Regions from separate parts of the Homo sapiens genome. Here region 2 is linked to region 1. The links are contacts of gene promoters, found by promoter capture Hi-C in human tissues and cell types (Jung and others, 2019). All regions are on one chromosome and are shown on one strand. Each heading gives the region's core, a stretch centred on a gene start or on the middle of the fragment in contact. The rest is flanking DNA. Distances are from core to core; before and after follow the strand shown.

Region 1 (2,549 bases), core at 33-2,532:
TGATGGCACATAAATGAGTGTCCTGCCTTATTCTGGGTGATGAGGGAAGGCTTGCTTCCCATGCAAAATGGGATTTGAGCTCACACTTCCAGTAACAGTCAAGATGGAGGGTAGGAATGGGAAGGGAAGGGCATTCTAGATTTAGAGAACAGCATTTTTAGCATGTAGGGCTGAGGTAGAGTCAGGGAATGAATGGGAGTGATAAGAAGCCACAGAGGCAAGTGGGAGCCAAATACCAGTCTCCAGTGCAGCAGCGTTGGATGGATCAGAGCTGGAAGGAAGAAAAGCCCACATTACCAGGGTTAGGGGGTGTGTGAGGGGGTGGGGATTTTAAGGGTCGTCCAATCCAGTGGCATTTAGTACTGTCTCCCTTCCCCCAGGGCTCATTTTGGAATTTTATGGTAGGTATTTTGTTATATTTGGTGTCAGTGGTAACATTGCTACTAGCGTTGTGGATAGGAGCCAGGATCCTGCAATGTACAGGACAGTCCTGCCCACTGAAAAAATGTTCACACTTTCAAATGTCTTGCTGAACATTCAGGTAGGTGAAAATTCTATTTCTAAATTATCTGAATCTAAACCTGTTTTCTGGATAAACATGTATTTTTGCACAGTTTTAACATACACTGATCTTCCAGGAATGTAATTATTGTATAATCAAGAGACGATTGTCCTGTGTTTCATTCAGAACTTCACGAAAACATGTTTGCCATTTTGGATCATAATTTTGTGACTTTTGCAACAATGTAAGTCACAGCTTTGTGGCTGTGGCACTCAGACAACGTCTATGTGTAAAGGCGACCACCTTATTAGGTCTCCTGCAGCAGCCAAGACCAAACACATTGAAGTATGTGTTTTTAAACGACAGATGACGGTCCTCTTTTTTTTCTCTTTCATTACACTTAAGGCATAACATTAGTTTTTAATATGTAGGTGTGTATGTTATGTATGATTTTCTAGGCCATTATATATGAATATCAGGTCAGGAGAATAAGATGGACATTACAAACTATTTGTTAGAAAAAGGGGGCATTGGGTGTGACAGCGCGCCATCCACTGGTCCATTTCCAAGACTCCCACACGTGGCTGCACCTGCAGCTTCACCTCCCCGGGCTGGGTCCCCGCTTGGCTCTGATTCTTACCTGCCCCATTCCCCAGGGGTAACAGTCACCGTGGGCCAGACCCGAGCTAGCCGACAGGGATGCGGCCACAGCTGGCCGGGCGTGACCACCACCGAGGCGCAGCGACCTTGCTCCTAGAGAGGCCCGGCCGCCTGGTGACGCACTTCCGGCAGCGCCGGGGAGCAGTCCGCTACGGAGGTGAGTGCAGGGCTCCGGGCGCTGTGTGCCGTGCCCTGTCCCCCAGGCTCTGGGTCCGGTTGAGACGCACTCCCACCCTGGGTGCTGCAGGGTCTCCCGTGGCCTACGCTGCCAGGAGGCCCAGGCTGGGAGAGGGAGCAGGGCGGCGGCCCGGGGTGCTCTTCCGCGCTCCTCGACTCCAGCTTTGGTCTTTGTGGCTCAATAGCTTGCGCCCATTGGAAGGGGAAACGCACGTTGCTGTCCCAGCCACGAGGCCCTGAGCATTTAGCACTTGGTCGACGGGGGAAGATGTGTCGGTGCAGCTAAAAGATGGAATATTTGCGGGCGTGAAGCGGCCCGAGGTGATACCACAAGTCTTTTGACATGCTGAGGTCTGGCAGGAACATTAACCTATGTGCATCCCGAGTATGGACCGTGTGCTCCCAGGCTCCTGACATAGGGTCATGAATTAGGGCCGAGTGGGAGCGCAGAGCCCCTCCCAGTCACCCGGCAGCAGAAGCAGCCCGGCTTTTGGAGGACATTGTCTCCTGGAGCAGTGTCAGTCCCAAAAGGTAACTCAGCCCTGCTTCTCTCGGCTCAGGGTTGACAGTGACCTGGGAATGACTTCTACAACGTAATTACGAATTCACTCAGTTTTAGAATATATTTAGTAGTCTCAGAATCGCTAATTCATACCCCCATGAAAAGCAAATTTACTACCTAAAGTACAGTACTTGGATACAGGTCTTTTTGTCTTTACTCTTATGGTATTTAGTCAAAATACTGTTTTCCAAAGTTGCTTACCCCTTTTCTTTCCTACCACTTAAGTGTGGTTATGTTCACTGTAGTATAGTTAAGCACATTGGCTGTTCTTTGTATTACATTTTGGGTCCTCAATTTCACCCCATCCTTGCTGGTTTATATATTTATTTAAAATATATATTTATATGTTACATATATAGTAGTAAACATCCATGAACACACCACCCAATTAAGAAAGAGAAGATTGCCAGTACTGCTGAATTTATCAATGTGTTCCTCCTCCTCAACCCAACTCCCAGCCTCCAACCCCTAGAGGTAACAGTTATATTGACTTTTGTGTTAATTGTAGCCCTGTTATTTTAAAAAATAATTACATATGCATGTATCTGTAAGCAATGTACTTAAATTTTTTTTTTGAGCTTCATATAAATGGCACCATTGTGTGTATAAGTCATCTGGGACTCGCATAATTCAATGTTAAGTTTCCAA
Region 2 (2,549 bases), core at 16-2,515, 680 kb after region 1:
CTGTCTGCCTAACGTAGCCCTGAGACGACTGAGCTCCAGACTAGGAATACGAGGTTCAGAGAAGCCTCCCCTGGCTGGGACCACTCTATATTAACCCATTTTGCGTTGCTATAAAGGAATACCTGAGGCTGGGTAATTTATAAAGAAAAGAGGTTGCTTCAGCTCCCGGTTCTGCAGACTCTACAGGAGGCATGGTGCCAGCATCTGCTTGGCTTCTGGTGAGGCCTCAGGAAGCTTTTAGTCATGGCAGAGGCAAAGAGGAAGCCAGCAGGTCACATGGCAAGAGAGGGAGCAAGAGAGGTGGGAGGCTTTTTGAAAGAACGAGCCCCCTCATGAATAATAATAGAGCAAGAACTCACTCAACTCGCTCAGTACCATGGGGAGGGCACCAAGCCATTTGTGAGGGATCCACCCCCATGACCGAAACCCCTCCCACCAGGCCCCACCTCCAACACTGGGAATCACATTTCAGCAAGAGATTTAGAGAGACAGGCATCCAAATCAGATCACGCTCCTTACATCAGTGGACTCAGGCATCAAAGAAGTGGCCAACGTGTGCAACCAGAGCCTGATGAAGCTGGTCACCCCCGAGGACGACGAGCTGGATGAGCTGAGACCTGGGCAGAGGCAGGCAGAGCCCACCCCTGACGATGCCCTGCCAAAGCAGGAGGGCACAGCCAGTGGTGAGTGGACTCCGTCCCTACACCTCACCTCCTGTCGGGGGCCCAGGGAGCCAGATGTCATAGGAGTTGCCTTGGGGCCTCACTTAAGCAACCAGGACTACTTTATGTATGTCACTCACACAATTGTAGCAGCAACCCAGCGCAGTGGCAGCAGTGGTTCTCCCCCATTCTGCAGACAGGACACAGGGAAGCTGAGTACCATGGCCACACACTCGCAGCTAGTGAAGACTGGAACCGGATTGGAACCCAGGCAGGCTGTCTCCAGCAGCCATGATCTTAACCCTTCCTGCCTCAAAGACCATGAAGCCTTTCCTTCATCTTTTTCCTGGATTCACGGGAAAGAGTTGTTTTCAGGGCAGGAAGGTTTGGAGCATGGGAGGAGTACCAGGATTCAGGGGGCACTTGATTCTTGGCCGTAGACGTCCAGCCACCAAGAAGCCTGGCTGCCTTTACCATGCGGGTCATTCTCAGGGTGGGAGGGTTAAGAAAGCTCTAGCTTCGATTTATTCTGTACTTGAAAATTCTCTTGCCCAAATAAGTGCCTTTAAAAAGTGAAGTTGCTCTGCTCTCCTTTCAGACTCCTCTAACATAATTTTCTTGTTTAGCTGTAAGGTAAAGAAAACTGCATTATAAGAAACCACATTTATGGCCGGGCTGGGTAATCCCAGCACTTTGGGAGTCTGAGGCAATCTGCATGAACTCAGGAGTTTGAGACCAGCCTGGGCAACATGGCAAAACCCCATCTCTACCAAAAAAAAAAAAAAAAAAAAATTACAAAAATTAGCCAGATATGGTGGTGCACACCTATAGTCCCAGCTCCTCAGGAAGCTGAAGCGGGAGGATCACTTGAGCCCAGGAGCCCAGGAGGCAGAAGTTGCAGTGAGCTATGATCACACCACTGTATTCCAACCTAGGCAACAGAGAAAGACCCTATCTCAAAAAAAAAAGAAAAAAGAAACCACATTTATGCCGACTGGCATCTGGAATTTGACTCCAGATGTAATCTAGAACCCTGATGCTTTCATATTTCTTGGGTCTCTGTCCTCACCAAGAGGTCACTGATCAGCTTTGGGTTGATGTCCTCCTTTGCCGAAGCAGCCAGAGTAAACTGAGATATAACCTACTCAGATTTTTTTTTCTAGTTAAATTCCATTTATTACAAATCTAACATTTAGCAAACATCTGTTATACATCAAGCTGTGTTTACCAGACAAAGTCCTTGTGCTCCAGAGGCTTACAGTCTAGTCAAGGAGGCAAGACAGCAAAACAAGACAAATCAACCAGTGGTAAAAGAAATCACAGCATTCAGTAGAATAACCCACAAGGCCATAAAACAAGAGAAACAAGTGAATGACAGTTTCAGCTAATTTGTCAAGAAATTTTTTATAGGGAAGACTAAGCCTACTCAGATCTTTAAGGATAACAGAGTAAGGTCTGGAACCTGCCCACAGGAGCCAAAAGAATTGCTGAGCATTCTCCCATTGCCATTCATGGACTTTTCTTTTGAACAGCTGAGCAGAATGTCAAGCATGCATGCCCCACCTCCTCCCATAGGTTTGGCTGGTAAAATCCAGCAGCTGTCCATGCTGGACCCATCTCAGGTGTCAGGTTACAGCTGTGCCATCACCACTGTGAATCAGAGCAACAAAACAGCTGGAGGCAGAACAGCACTCAGCTGGAGCATTGGTGGTTCAGTGGTAGAATTCTCGCCTGCCACGCGGGAGGCCCGGGTTCGATTCCCGGCCAATGCAGCAGCTGAAAGCTTTTTGGCAGCTCCTGGAAAAAGAAAACTTGGAGAAATAAGTTAACTTGGAGGGATAAGCTAGTGCGGGCCTTCAAAGGGAGGAGCTTTTTTTACTGGGAGAA

What was found. The method cuts DNA at HindIII sites, captures the fragments that hold promoters and counts their contacts. A contact is called where the count stands out against the background at its distance.
Region 2: a contact is called between a fragment that was not itself captured here and the fragment with the promoter of ZNF23 in region 1, in 2 of the 25 tissues and cell types used here (IMR-90 fibroblasts and dorsolateral prefrontal cortex).

Annotation. Positions count from the first base shown.
Region 1 is chr16:71,460,980-71,463,528 of GRCh38, reverse strand. ZNF23 (zinc finger protein 23) reads left to right here and starts at 1,282. Exons shown (of 5, transcript NM_001381984.1): 1 at 1,282-1,319. It overlaps LOC124903709 (a long non-coding RNA gene), which reads right to left and starts at 1,217. Exons shown (of 2, transcript XR_007065105.1): 1 at 237-1,217. RefSeq lists enhancers at 1,164-1,323, 1,594-1,683. The HindIII fragment of the contact is 9,699 bases long and covers 1-2,549 here.
Region 2 is chr16:70,778,924-70,781,472 of GRCh38, reverse strand. VAC14 (VAC14 component of PIKFYVE complex) reads left to right here. Exons shown (of 19, transcript NM_018052.5): 9 at 534-683. TRG-GCC2-4 (tRNA-Gly (anticodon GCC) 2-4) reads left to right here and starts at 2,364; the gene lies at 2,364-2,434. The HindIII fragment of the contact is 5,357 bases long and covers 1-2,549 here.